2 separate regions of the Homo sapiens genome follow, and region 1 is linked to region 2. The links are contacts of gene promoters, found by promoter capture Hi-C in human tissues and cell types (Jung and others, 2019). All regions are on one chromosome and are shown on one strand. Each heading gives the region's core, a stretch centred on a gene start or on the middle of the fragment in contact. The rest is flanking DNA. Distances are from core to core; before and after follow the strand shown. Region 1 holds the start of MYPOP (Myb related transcription factor, partner of profilin). Region 2 holds the start of CALM3 (calmodulin 3).

Region 1 (7,248 bases), core at 2,183-4,682, 700 kb before region 2:
GCGCCATTTCACTCTAGCCTGGGCAATAAGAGCAAAACTCAGTCTCAAACAAACAAACAAACAAGCAAACAAAAAAAGAATGTCGGTTCCATAAGGGAAGGGGATTTTGTCTTTTTCTCTACATTATTCCCTGCACCTACCACAGCGTCTGCCTTGGATGAGGTTCTCAATATATATTTGCTAAACGAGTGAATGAAGTGGTAACAAGTTTCTGAAAAAATAAGTTGGCCATCTCTGCTCTGGTCCTATGGGGCCATCTCACAGATGGAAACACTGAGGTTTGATTCAAGGTTTGAGAACAAGGGTCCCATGTGATTGTGTCACCTTCCTGCTTAGGAGATTTTCATGCCTCCTGAATGCCCTCAAGAGCAAGTCCAGGCCGGGCGTGGTGGCTCAGGCCTGTAATCCCAGCACTTTGGGAGGCCGAGGTGGGTGGATCACCTGAGGTCGGGAGTTCCAGACCAGCCTGGTCAACATGGTGAAATCCCATCTCTACTAAAAATACAAAAATTACCTGGGCATGGTGGCAGGCACCTGTAATCCCAGCTACTCAGGAGGCTGAGGCAGGAGAATCACTTGAACCTGGGGAGGCGGAGGTTGCAGCAAGCCAAGATTTCGCCACTGCACTCCAGCCTGGGCAACAGAGCAAGACTCCGTCTCAAAACAAAAAACAAAACAAAAAAAATAGTAAGTCCAAATTCCTGACCTTGACTTCCAAGCCACGTGTAATCTAATTCTGGCACACTCATTAACTCCTGGTCAATATTAACTCTTGTTATTGCTGGGCAATCTTGCTCAGTGGTTAAGTGCCATGGACTGGGGGTTGGACGCACACTTATGCTTGAGTCCTGACTCTGTCACTTACTTGCTGTGTGACCTTGGGTGGGTGAATGAACCTCTCTGAATCACATAATCTTGAACTGTCTTGTTTGATCATGCCCATGTTCCTCCCCTTCTCCAAACTCTTCAGTGGCTTCTCATAGCAGTCAGGATAAAATCCAAACTCCTCACCTTGGCCTAAAGGCCCAGTATGGTCTGGCCTTTGCTGACCTCTCTGAACTCATCTCAAAATGTTACTTTTCTTCAACCTTTCCACTCTACACTCTTTTCCCCGCAACTTCTTTTAGTTTCCCAAACTGGCCAAGCTTTCTTGCCTCCAAGCCATTGTACATGCTGTTCCCTCTACCAAAAATACTTTCCCAGTTCTTCATTCTTACTCTTTGCATCTCAGCTCTGATGTCCCCTCCTCCAGGAAGCCCTCCTGGACCACCCCCCCCCCCACCGAAATCAGAAACCCTCTCTGGGCTCCCACAGTCCCTGGGATCCCCTACCCCAGCCCTGCTCCCTCAAGTCATCACCGTCTTCCCCACCCCCCTACTAGACTGGCTCAGTCATCCATGTGTCCCCAACCTCATCGAGCATGGGGCAGGTGCTCAGGGAACGGCTGTAGAAGAAATAATCCAGAATCAAGGCTAAGCAGGAAGTTTCTGTAGTCAGCTCTCCACACCTCTATCCAAGGCATGACCTTGGGAAAATTACCAAACATGTCTGAGTCTTTTATTTATGAAATAGTGAAATAGTATGCATCTTACCGCATTGATGATTCTATCAAGAACTAACAATGAGAGTTGAGGAGGTGCTGAACTAAGCAACTTACCCATATTAGCTCATTTAATCTTCACAGCAACGCTTTGAGGTGCAGACTATTTTTATCTCCATTTTACAGATGCAGCAACTGAAGTACAGTAACTTACTCAGATGACACAGTTCAGTGGCAAAGTTGTGATCGGAGCCCAGGCAGCCTGCCTCCAGAGTCACTACTCGACACTGCATTTAATGAAATCCTGCCTGTGCTGATGACCCCAGGTGTGGACCTGAGTCAGGCCTCCTAAATCTGGTTCCATTCCTGGCTCTTGACAGTTACTAGCTATCGGAACTGAGGCAAGTCATTTCATTTTTCTGAGCTTCAGTTTCCCTAGCTATAAAATGGGGCGAAGGACAGCATCCACCTCACAGGGCTGCAGCAAGGCTTTGATGAGACATGTAAAAGGCTTGCAACAGCGCAGGCACACAGCCTACTCTGAAGACACTCACCTGCACGTCGGTCCTCCCGGCGGTCTTCCGACAACACGTAGCGCTGAGGGCAGGCGCTTGGGGGCGGCGGCTGTGAAGAGGGGGCCGCAGGGGGCTCCTCCGCCCCAGCACCTGCCCCCGGCGCCGCCACACCTGGCCCCAGGATGGCAAAAATGGTCTCCTCTTCCGCGGAGAAAGCGTCCTCCGCGGCGGGCCCGGCGCCCTGCGTGGAGTGCGGCACGCGAGCGAGCTTCTCCTTGGTGCGGCGCTTGAAGTCGTTCCAGCGCTTCTGCACCTCCTGGCCCGTGCGCTTCCAGCTGGTGATACCGTTGATCTTGGCGGCGATGCCGTCCCACACGCGCCGCCGCTCTGCCACGCTCACCCGACGGCTCTGCGCGCCGTAGAGCTGCGGGTAGTGGGCGCGCACCTCGCGGATCAGGATCTGGTTCTCTTCGAATGAGAAGCGCGGCTTGCGCAACCGGGTGGTTTCCTCCGCTTCGCCCGCCGCCGCCGAGGCCATGGCGCCCCCCGACGCCGCCGTCCTGCCGTCTGGCGCATGGGGGGCGCCGGCGCTGCGGGCAAAGGGCGCACGGGGCTGGCTGGGGTTCGGGGTCCCCCCGCCGCCGCCTCTCCCAGACCGCCGGGCCGAGAGCTCCTTAGTCCCCGGGGGCAGGAGTGGGGGCGGGGGGCGGGCGGGGGCGACGGGCACCCGGGTAAGTCGGAAGCGCCTAAGAGTAGCTGACACCGGCTGAGCGCTTGGCTCGGACTTCGCGCGGCGCGAAGTGCCACGCTGAAGAGTTGATAGAAATTGGGGGAGGGTCTGGAGGGATGGAAGGAAAGGAGGAAAAGTGCGAGGAGAGGAGGTGTCTGCAGGAGTTAGAGAATGGGGGCACGGGAGGATAGGAAATGGAGGGAGGATGGGGGTGCCTCGGGGGGGTCTTAGATGCATGAAGATAAGGAGATGCGGAAGGGGGGATGCAGCAAGAAGGGGGGAATCTGGAGCAGAGGAGGCGCTCTAGGGGCTCTAGGGGGCAACGGGGCGTCTGTAAGACCGATATGAGAAGGGCCCTTAGAGGGATGTCCAGGAATAATGGTGAGGTGGGAGCTCCTGTATCACTGGAAGAGCTGGAACGATCAAATATTAGGGATCAGGGTCTGCGAGGATTGTGGGGGCTCTGGGGATTGCCAGAAATTAAGGGGAGCTCTGGAAATAACGGGGGTCCCGTATCACAAGGAGACAACGGAGGCTACGGGGGACGGCAGGGAGAGCGAAGGTCGCGGAGGGTGGGGACCGAGTCGGGCCACGGGTCACTCACCGGCTCCGCCGCAGCCGCCGGTGGGTCAGGGCTCGGGCTTCTGCGGCCTGTTCCCACCCCCCGCCTCCCTCCCTCCCCTCTTTCGGCCCCGCCTCCGGCCGCCCCGCATGCCAAGGCGCAGGCGCGCCCAGGGCCAGTCGGCCCCAATGCCCTTACCGCCAGGGTTTCATTCCCACCTACCCCAGCACAGCGCAGGCGCAGAACTGCGCTCCGCCGAGCCCCACCAGCAGGCCGCAACTGCGCAGCCGCAACGTTAGCGCCGCGCGGGTACCCCAGCTTCCTGGGGCCACAACGGCGCACGCGCAAAAACTCCATCGCGCGCATGCGCGTGCCTCGGGTTGTACCCGGTACCGGGTCTCGGCGCAGGCGTTGCGAGCTTGGATGGGAGAGATGCTGGGAGCGCGCCAGTACCCAACCTTTCGGACAGTCTTCCAGCCCACCCTGCCCTCTAACCAAAGGGGAGGGAGACAGCGCTGAAGGGAAGCGCTTTGTCTCCTTGACAACTGTGTGGGTGGGGTGGAGGCGTGAGGAAACCGCTTTGCCTCCTGGCTTGCCCGCCCCTGCGCTGGGCCGCTCCAGAGCTTCCCACCTCGCACCCCTAGAGGCTGGGCGTCCTGGGGATGTCCCGCCCCGGGCGGATGCAGTAACCATAGCGACCCACAAGCCTTCCAGTCACGCCTTGGGGGCCCCTCTGTGCGCACCTTTACCTCGAGGAGCGGGGAAAATAAGAGGGAAGAGCTTCCTGGCTGGTAGGAAGGGAGATCCTGACGCCGGCACGACTTTAAGCAAGTGCATGGAGACAGGAATGAAGCCAGAACGCAGGTGGGGTGAGCCGCATGGCAGGATGATGGAGCTCAGTCCGGCTGAGAAGTGTGTTCGTTAGCATCCTGCAGGAGTCCTCAAGGTCATTCGACAATTGGTGCTTCATTCATCGACTCAATAAATATACATGAGCACTTACACAGTTCCTGGTACAATGAACATAAAAGCTAAAATCCGTAGCCTGGGCCGGGCGCGGTGGAGCTCACGCCTGTAATCCCAGCACTTTGGGAAGCCAAGGCGGGCGGATTACCTGAGGTCAGGGGTTCGAGACAAGCCTGGCCAACACAGTGAAACCCCATCTCTACTGAAAATACAAAAACTAGCTGGGCATGGTGGTGCATGCCTGTAATCCCAGCTACTCGGGAGGCTGAGGCACGAGAATCGCTTAACCCCGGGAGGCAGAGGTTGCAGTGAGCTGAGATTGCACCACTGCACTCCACCTGGACGACAGAGTGAGACTCCGTCTCAAAAAAAAAAAAAAAAAAAATACATGCCTGTAGTCCCAGCTACTTGGGAGGCTGAGGCGGGAGGATCGCTTGAGCCCAGGAGTTGCAGGCTGCAGTGAGCTATGATCAGGCCACTGCTCTCCAGCTTGGGCAACAGAGTAAGACCCTGTCTCAAAAGAAGAGAGAGAGAAAAAAAAGGCCCCTCTGCCTGCTGTGTGGAGGGTGGGTGGGAGGGAGCAAGACTACTGGGTAGAGTCAAAAAAAGTCATGAGCAGGGGTAAGAAAAGGATTAGGAAAGCGAGGGGAGACTAAACTAAGACAGGGACAGTGTCAAGGGGGACACGGAGAGACATTTGAGAGAATATATGGAAAGCATGGTGAGTGTCGCGCTAGCGAGGGAAAGGAAGATGTCTAGGTGAAACCCAAGTCTCTGGCCCAGGTTCTCACTTGGGGGTGTGGGGTCAGGTAAGATGTGGTGAATGTAAGGCTGGGTGCAGTGGCTCACGCCTGTAATCCCAACACTTTGGGAGGCTGAGACAGGTGGATCATCTGAGGTCAGGAGTTCGAGACCAGCCTGGCCAACATGGTGGAACCCTGTCTCTATTAAAAATTCAAAAAAAAAAAAAATAGCTGGGTGTTGTGCCATGTGCCTGTAATCCTAGCTACTCGGGAGGCTGAGGCAGGAGAATCTCTTGAGCCTAGGAGGCACAGATTGCAGGGAACCGAGATCTCACCACTGCACTCCAGCCTGGGCGACAGAGTGAGACTCTGTCTCAAAAAAATTAAAAAAAAGGCCGGGCGCAGTGGCTCATTCCTGTAATCCCAGCACTTTGGGAGGCCGAGGCAGGTGGATCACGAGGTCAGGAGATTGAGACCATCCTGACTAACATGGTGAAACCCCGTCTCTACTAAAAATACAAAAAATTAGCCGGGAGTGGTGGCAGGCGCCTGAAGTCCCAGCTACTCGGGAGGCTGAGGCAGGAGAATGGCATGAACCCGGGAGGCTGAGCTTGCAGTGAGCTGAGACTGCGCCACTGCATTCCAGCCTGGGGGACAGCGTGAGACTCTGCCTCAAAAAAAAATTAAATTAAAAAAATAAGAACAACAACAAAAAAAACACAATCAAAAAAAGATACGTGAGTGTAAAGTGACCAACAGGTTGAACTGTTTCCCCCAAAAAGAGAGGCTGAAGTCCTGATCCCCCAGTGCTTCAGAATGTGACCTTATTTGGAAATAGGGTCCTTGGAGAGGGAATTCGTTGAGAGGTAGCCATACCAGTGTAGGGTGGACCCGTCATTCCTCATTCCCGGTGTCTTTATAAGAAGAGGAGACACACAGGGAAGACAATTCTATGGTGACAGAAGTGGAGACGGGGGTGACGCAGCCACAAGCCCAGGAAGGCCCTGTGCTATCAGAAGCTGGAAGAAGCCAGGAAAGATCACCCGCTGGAGCCTTGTCCGGAGTGAGGCCACGCCCATGCCTTGATTTCGGATTTTCAGCCTGGTGAATCTGGGAGACAATACGTTTCTCTCTCTCTGTTTTTTTTTTTTTTTTGAAATGGAGTCTTGCTCTGTTGCCCAGGCTGGAGTACAGTGGCACGATCTCGGCTCGCTGCAGCCTCTGCCTCCCGGATTCCAGTGATTCTCCTGCCTCAGTCTCCCGGGTAACTGGGATTACAGGCGCATGCCACCATGCCCAGCTAATTTTTGTATTTTTAGTAGAGACGGGGTTTCACAGTGTTGGCCAGGCTGGTCTTGAACTCCTTACCTCAGGTGATCCGCCTGTCTCGGCCTCCCAAAGTGCTAGGATTACAGGTGTGAGCCACCGTGCCTAGCCACGTTTCTCGTTTTAAACCACCCAGTTTGCGGTACCTTGTCATGGCAGCCACAGGAAACAAATGCACTGGGGACCCCGGGAAGGCATTCGGGGAGCTGCATTCAGGGAGCTGCTGCCTCCATGGCAGTCCAGGCAGAGAGTTGAGTCTAAACCTGGCTCTGGGTTCACGAGGCGGTGGGAGGTGGAGAGCCACAGCAGTGGGGTATGGAGCTCCACAGATGTGGGTAGCTGGAAGCTGGATGCAGGAAGTCAGAGGGCAAGACTCCTGGGGTGAGGGTGGGTCAGGGAAGGCTTTCTAGGGCCACATTTTCTTTCTTGTCTTGCCTCTTTTCTTTTCTTGATGGAGTTTTGCTCTTGTCGCCCAGGCTGGAGAGCAATGGTGCGATCTCGGCTCACAGCAACCTCTGCCTCCCTGGTTCAAGCGATTCTCCTGTCTCAGCCTCCTGAGTACCTGGGACTACAGGGGCACGCCACCACACTTGGCTAATTTTTGTTTTTTTTTTAGTAGAGATGGGATTTCACCCGTGTTGGCCAGGCTGGTCTCAAACACCTGACCTCAGATGATCCACCTGCCTTGTCCTCCCAAAGTGCTAGGATTATAGGCATGAGCCACTGTGCCTGGCGAAGGGCCACATTTTCAAAACTGTGAGTTGTGAGTCCTTTTTTTTTTTTTTTTTTGAGACAGAGACTTGCTCTATGACCCAGACTGGAGTGCAGTGGTACAATCATGCAATCATGACTCAAACTTCCAGGCT
Region 2 (7,525 bases), core at 1,270-3,769:
TTTGTTAAATTTCACTGATAAATTTCTGCGTTGCTTTTCTATGTCGTCTTGGAATTCACTGAGTTTCCTTAAAAATGCCATTTTGAATTCTTAGAAAGCTCACATATTACTGTCTTGTTAGGTTTAGTCACTGGTCCCTTACTTGGTCCATTTGGGGAGCTCATGGTTCCCTGTTTGCTTTGGTTTGTTGTTAATGTACATCTATGCCTTTGCACTGAAGGATTAGTCACTTATTCCAGCCTTCTCCGTCTGGCTTGTTTTGGCTTTTACTGGCTCCATTTGCTTACAGATTCTTCGTAATTGACCTGTTGGTTTCTTTTTTTCTGCTAGGTTGCTGCCTCCTTTTTAGCACTCAGTGGCACCTTAAAACCAGGTTTGCCTTGGCTCTATTAAAGATCAGAGCGTCTCCCATCCCGAATGGGGGAGGTCCCAAAGGGGATATCCCAGTAGCATAGGAAAGCTGGCTAGGGGTTCATTCCCAGGGGAGCTATGGAAGAAACCTCCCACAGCATGGTGCTAACGAACAGCCACTCTGATTTGGCATCTCCTTTGGCCAAGTTATAGAGTAGAGAGAGTTTCCAGGGCTGGGGATGGTAGTCCCACCTCCCCACTTTGTCTGTGGCTATTCTCAGAGGATATTTCTCCCTTGAGGCACTCCTGATGGTTGTATTCTTGTGATTACAGCACTTTGGGAGGCCAAGGCAGGCGGATCACTTGAGCTCAAGAGTTTGAGACCAGCCTGGCCAACATGGTGAAACCCTGTCTTTACTAAAAATACAAAAATTAGCCAAGTGTAGTGGTGGGTGCCTGTAGTCCCAACTACTTGGGAGGCTGAGGCAGGAGAATCGCTTAAACCTGGGAGGCGGAGGTTGTAGTGAGCCAAGATCATGCCACTGCACTCTAGCCTATGTGACAGAGCAAGACTCCGTCTCAAAAAAAATACAGATCTTGTGTGAACTAACAGAATAAGAACTCACTTGTTACCGTGAGGACAGCACCAAGTCATTCATGAGGGATCCACCCCTATGACCCAAACACCTCCCACCAGGCCCCACCTCCAACATTGGTGATCACATTTTAACATGAGATTTGAGACTGAGTAACAAGTGTTAGGATTAAAGGCATGAGCCACCGCGCCCGGCCATCTTCTTTACCTCTCCACTGTGTCAGTTTTATTTTTCTCTTCTTCTCTAGACACTTTGTTCCTCAAGATAGGGGGCAGAGTGGGAAAATGACCATAGTCAGAATCTATGGGAAGGACCCACCCAAAAGGAAAAGGCTTCTTGTGCCCAGGCTGCAGATCCAAACCCCAGGGAAGGACTCTCATTGGTTCAGTCTCCATTCTGTTCCAGGTGGAGCATAATGATTGGTCCAGCCTGACTCGTTTGCCCATCTCTTAACCATCAACATGGTGGGGAGGGGACACGCAGGAGACTGTCAGCTCCTATCCTAAACGGGGGAGGGGGCAGGGGTGATCATTTTCTGAGCTCCTATAAACAAAGTTTCAGTTCTTTTTCCTCCTATGGCTGGAACACTGGAATAAGGAAAGAGGTCGTCTGTCTGGAGAGGCTGGTTGGGGAGTATGGTCTCCCCAGCCCAGCCAAGCTCAGGTCCCTGCATACAGCAGGCGCCTAATTGATGCTTATAGCACGAATGACTGAATGAATACCCCGTTCCCACAGGCTGTCCTGGGATGGTCCTAATTTCACAGACCCTGAGCGGATCAAGAATGAAGCGGGCCCAGGGGTCCCGCCCACCGGCTGAGTGCGTCTTAGGACGCAGAGACAAGACCACGGAGGGCGGAACCTCTGAGCGTTAGGTGGCACCTTGGAGACCCCGCCACCTCCAAAGGCCCAGTTAGGGGCGGAGCTTCTAAACCCTAGCATTTTGGATTGAACCATCGTCCGTCGGTTAAAGGGGAGAGCCGAGAAAGCCCTTCTGCATTTGTCGCCAGCCTTTTTACCACCTCCTGGCCACAGAAACGACGTATTTGCTTCTCTAACGGCGACGCCGTTTCCCCCTTCGCCTCGTTACTCCTCAAAGCCCCACGCGGCCACAGAGTTCAGACTTACCCACCACCACCTTGCAGTGGCTCGCCCCAGTTTGACGCATTGCAGGGAAGGTCGGACCAATGGGCGCCAAGCTCTCATTTCCGCCATGGGCCAGGCCCAATAGTGACGCGGCTCACAGAGGGACGCGTCACGCACCGCCGAGCTGTGCCCCTCCGCCGAAGAAAGTGAAGTGGGCCCGGGAGGCGGGGCGCGCGGCGAGGGAAAGTAGTCCGGCGACGGGAGCGAGCGCGCGCGCGCCCGGCGGCAAACCCAATTCCTGTGCAGGGTGGGGACGAGAGATTCGCGGGCCCGTAGGTGTGGAGCGGGGCGCGGAGGGATCCGTGGGAGCCGCAGTGCGGCGGCGCGCGGGCCGGGTGGGGCGGGGCCGAGCGAGGCGGGGCGCGCGCGGCGGCCGTTGAGGGACCGTTGGGGCGGGAGGCGGCGGCGGCGGCGGCGCGCGCTGCGGGCAGTGAGTGTGGAGGCGCGGACGCGCGGCGGAGCTGGAACTGCTGCAGCTGCTGCCGCCGCCGGAGGAACCTTGATCCCCGTGCTCCGGACACCCCGGGCCTCGCCATGGTGAGTGAGGCTGGGGGGTCGCCGAGGCTGCGGGCTCTGAGGCGGGCTTAACGGGGCAGGACCCCTGAGGGGGCGACAGAGCCCAGAGTGGGGGGCGTCCGGGCCCGGCGAGAGCCTCGGGACCCTTTTCTACCCGCGTTGTCGGGGGCTGTTGAACCCAGAGCGGGACGTCTGGATCACCAGAGGTTTCCAGAAGCGACTTTAGCACCAAATGGGATGTTTAAGTCCACAAATGGGTATCTGAGCCCCTAAAGGGGACATTTGAACCCCGGATGGAGGATCGGGACCCTCAGTGGGACCCCTCAAAAGGATTTTGGACCCAGGATGGGGCGTTGGGTTTCAGGATGGAGGTGTTTGGACCCCAGGGGACGAAATAAGAAAGATGGGCTGGGGAGGGGAGCTATTCGGGCCCTGATGAAGGCGTTTGGTCCTGAGAGGATGCGGGGAACGGGGGACGAAGGGAGGCTGGGCTGCTCCTGGATGGGGTGGTGGAGGGTAGCTGGGCCCGGGCGGGGAGGGGCGACCCCTGGGCTCCTGTGGAGCAGAGGAGAGGGTCAAGGATGGGCGGTCACTTCTACAGATGAGACTCCCGAGGGTGGGGGAGGGTGGGGGAGGGTGGTCTCCAGAGCCCAGCACTGCAGAGGAGGAGGAGGGTGAGGTGCAAGCTTATGGGAGGAAGAGCCTGGGGTGGGTGGCAGCGGAGATTAGAAGATACTCTTGAAGGCTTCCGGGACGGAGAAGGATCAGGGTCGTGGAGGTGGTGAAAAGGGATGGTGAGAGTGGGGCTCGCCAGTAGTCGGGGGACAGGGACCCTTGGGGTTAATTTGGAAGTAGCTAGAAAAGGTTCCGAGGTTACTAGTGGGTTAAGACTGTTGCTCTAGAAAGACAGAATTTTTTTAACGGGGTGGGAGTGTTGTGTTTGGGTCCAAGAGAAGATGGATTTCCAAGGTGAGGGGTGGGGGAGGACTTGGGCTTGGGTGGTTGGGAGGTGAGGTGGAAGGAGAAAATGAATGGCAGTCAGGGGGGCCTAGGTTTGGGGGTGGATGTGGGTAGCACCCTGCCAGTCTCCAGGGACAGGCCAGGACAAAGACGGCTCAGTGTGGATGGGGAGTGGGCTGCAGGGCCCGGAGGAAGCTTTTCTACCGTCCTCCTTCCTCAGGAAGAACGCGGCTGGGTGGAAGACACCGGGGCAGTGGGAGCAGGTGGGCGGAGCTGTTCGGGCCCCTATTGCGCACTGAAGCCTCATGAAATGGGGATGGGAGATCAAAGTTTGGGGTGCCTCGAATGAGCCAGCTTTTTCAAGCCTAGAAGCCTCACTCTGTCGCTGCCCTTTTCAGGCCAAGAGCACTGCCTTTTCCCAGCAGGAGCGCCGGTTTTCTCATGATCCCCAGCCCCACGCACCATGCTGCACCTCGTCACTTGTGCCAAATGACAGTGCAGTACAGTGTGGCGTCAGTGACAATCAGATGCCTATTCCCGTGCCCTCGGGGTGGGGGCTGCAGAGCTTGATCAGAGAGTGCCTCTGGGGAGACCCCTTGATCGGCCTGAGGGCCACTTGTTCCATTCAGGGCCCTCGCTGAGCGTGTCTGTTAATTCACAGGGCTTTGAGAGAAAACCAGCAGACTAGTTCTTTCCTACTCCCTGCCACCCACAACACCCACAGCCCCACCAGGCTGAGCCTGGGAACCGTGTGCAGCCATCCTCCCTGGCAAGGCTGGGGAGAACAGGCAGCCGCTGCTGTGTATCAGATCTCATACTTGCTGACACAGACCTGATGGCTCCTCTTGCCGCTACCCCATTTTCCCCCAGCAGAACCTGGCTAAAAGGGGCCCTGAAGCACTAGCAGGCCCCCTACCTCCAGAATAGGACCCAAGCTTTGGCCACAACTAGTTTCTCTTTCTGTTTGTAATCAGCAAGGTAGAGGTGGGACAAGTCACTGGTAACTGGCCTTGGACTTTGGCCTGAGCTCTGTGGCTCCTCCTTGGCCCGGGTGAGGGGCCCTGGCCTTGGTTTCTGATCTCATCTAACACTGCTCTCTGGCATTGGCTGGGGGCTGGGGCAAGGCAGAGAAATCACACCCTCTTCCCTCCCCCACCTCATGGTTTTTTTTCTTGTCCAGCCCCTTGCTGGAGCCTAAGATGAGGGATAAGGAAGCAGGAGACCAGCTGAGTTATTTTGGAAACAGTTTTTGTTGAAAGTTTAGTCTTCAGGTCTAGAAAGGGAAGAAACCTTGAGCAAGGATCAATGATATCTTCTTAGGCGGTCGGTTTTCTGGGCGGCAACCTTGCTTGAGATCTGTACCTTTCCTTGACCAAGCAGGGAAGTGGGTCTCCAACATGGGAGGGAGAGCATCTGACAGGCCCTCCATGCAGAGCCACGCCTATTTGCAGCAACCCTGTGACAGAACTGAACATGGCAGTGCCTCATCTGCATCTTCCAGTCTTTTGGTGGAGACTGGCAAACGGTGGCCTTCAGAGCCGCTCGGGGCAGTCTGCAGCCTGTCACAGCCTCCTCGCCCCCACCCCCAGCCCCTTACAGTGCTGCCCAAAGGTCCGGGGAGCTGGACTTCTTGCAGGGCGGAACAGTGGGCTGGGAAGGCCCTGACCTGGCTCGCTTTTTCCATTCTAGGCCAGGGGAAAGAATGAAAAGCAGATGGGATGGCAGCCACCTCCCCACACTGCTGCCCTCCTCTCTGTTCTTTCCCTGACCCTCCCTGGGCATTGCCTGGTCTCGGTAACCAGAAGCCCATCCTCCCTTCTCACTTTCCCTAAGCCTCTTCCTCAGGTGTCAGGACCTAAGGGATGGCTCCAGGCTTTTTTGTCCATGGTGGGAGGTGGGGGGCAGGTGGATCAAGAGGCTCATGGGCCTGGGGCTACCAGGTTGGCATTTAGAAGCCCAACCACCCTGTCTTTTTTGAAGGCAATGCAGAAGAATCTTCATTTGGCCTCCCCACCTCCCCTTTACACTTTGGACTTTTCCAGAATGTGCATGTGTGCCGTTTTCTCCCTTCCTCTTTCCCCCTCCCTAAGCCCTCTCCCCTCTGTGATCATCATTTTGATTACCCCTCCCATTCTGCCTATTTGGGGCTTGCAAGTTCTTCTTCCGTTAGGTTTTTTTTTTTTTTTTCTAACTTTTTTAGATCAGTGATTGTTAATATTTGGGACGGGGATGGGGGTAGGGGAGGCAGGCAGTGGTTTGTTCCTAGCTTCTGGAACCTCTCCGTAGAATACTGCAAATTCACATAATAGTCTGCTTCTATTTCTGAGGCTCTCAGACTCGAGACTAGAACATGCTATAGACTTGGAGCCCCTTTCCCTGATTGTGAAAGGAAGGGGAACAGACCCACCATGGTCCCGGGATGGTGGTGCCTTCTTCACAGCATCAACAAAAACCAGGGAAAATGTGTCTTTTGGCTGCTAAAGCTAAATGTTGGGATTCAGCCTCCCCAACCCCCCAGCCCCGCTCCTGCCCCATAGGATCACTATGCCTGGCTGATGCCCAGCACACCAGTGCAGGAGAAGCCAGTCCCCGCATCTCCTCCCCACCCCCAAACCCCGCATGCAGCAAGGGCTGCCTGCCACCCACTGGCCAGTCCCCAGAGTGCCCAAGCTGGAAAGGGTTAAAAACTGCAGTGCAAGCCAGCTTCAGTCCTCTGCTGCTGCCCGCTGCAGCCCTCTCCCTGACGTTTGTCCCTTCTGCCCAAAAGAAACAAAACAGAATGGCCCTGTGCCCTCACTGTGCGCAGGGGGTGGAGCGCCTGCCTCCAGCCTGACCAGAGTTCTTTAGGTGCTTGAGCAACTCGGGCCGCCGGTTAGGAGAATTTTTGCCACTTGGGTGGACTCTGCCTGAGCCAACCGCCTCCAAATAGGTGACACAGAAACTAGCAGAGATAGCCCCAGACATCGTCCCTCTGCCCTACCCAAGGACTGGCCTGCTTCAGTTTGGAGCCTTCTAGAGCTTCTTGATGAGGCCTCCAGGGCAATCGTTCCCTTCACTCGGCCTCTGGGGCTCTCACTGATGAGATGCAAACCTGTGCCAGGCCTCACCAGCGCTGCTGGTTTGGGGCTGGGGCAGGCTTTTCTCCCGCCCCTGTGGCTCCCACATGCTGAGTTGAGATTGGAAGCCCGTGGGTCTGGGCAGCTTCATCGGGCCGTGCGTCCAGCAGGCCTGAGTGTCCAGCCCACCCTGGTACCCAGCTTTCTGAATCACCAGACTTTATCATCAGGCGCTGGCTCTGCCTCAGACCCTGACTCTGGCATGCTCCTCCCTGGCCCGGCGGGAATGGCACGTGGAGCTGGCCTCACTGGGGCCGAGGGTCTGGGCTGAGTGAGGAAGATGCGTCCGTGCTGTCCGGCCTGGTGACTGACTTTCCCCTTCATGCTTTTACAGGCTGACCAGCTGACTGAGGAGCAGATTGCAGGTGAGTCTGCTATCCCCCTCATCTTAGCTCAGGAAAGCCTCCACATCCCCAGCCAAATCTTAGCCACTGAGGAGTGACATCTGATGGGTGAACCTGTGTATCCCTTGTGTCACCTAACACTATGCCTTGTGCCTAGAATGCTGATAAATGTGTGTAAGAGCACACCAGTGCCCCAATGACACGAAGCCCCATGGCCCTGAGACAGGCCTTTACCAGACACCAAAGGCTGTGTTCCTCTCCTGGGCCTGGGTCATCTAGGGGCTTGATATCAGTGGCTGCAGGACGAGCCCAACTCTCTCTCCCAGCTTCAGCCAGGTTGGCTTAGAAGGTGAGCTCCCTGCCTCCCTGTGGGGCCTGCAGAGCTCCTGTCCCACTTTAGGAGCCGCCCAGGAGCTGGCTCGTCACTCCCACCTCTGCGCTTGCCTGCGCTTTGCACTTCCTTTCGCATGTGCCTGCGCCTGCCTGTTCTGCTGGCGGA

The links. The method cuts DNA at HindIII sites, captures the fragments that hold promoters and counts their contacts. A contact is called where the count stands out against the background at its distance.
Region 1: a contact is called between the fragment with the promoter of MYPOP here and the fragment with the promoter of CALM3 in region 2, in 1 of the 25 tissues and cell types used here (pancreas).

What each region holds. Positions count from the first base shown.
Region 1 is chr19:45,899,181-45,906,428 of GRCh38, forward strand. It overlaps MYPOP (Myb related transcription factor, partner of profilin), which reads right to left and starts at 3,433. Exons shown (of 3, transcript NM_001012643.4): 1 at 3,390-3,433; 2 at 2,095-2,645. The coding sequence starts at 2,593. RefSeq lists enhancers at 3,196-3,245, 3,676-3,785 and silencers at 3,436-3,485, 4,046-4,125. The HindIII fragment of the contact is 9,891 bases long and covers 1-4,968 here.
Region 2 is chr19:46,598,811-46,606,335 of GRCh38, forward strand. It overlaps CALM3 (calmodulin 3), which reads left to right and starts at 2,520. Exons shown (of 6, transcript NM_005184.4): 1 at 2,520-2,627; 2 at 7,017-7,047. The coding sequence starts at 2,625. It also overlaps the pseudogene PPP5D1P. RefSeq lists enhancers at 1,785-2,284, 4,013-4,082 and a silencer at 2,415-2,554. The HindIII fragment of the contact is 7,591 bases long and covers 1-3,526 here.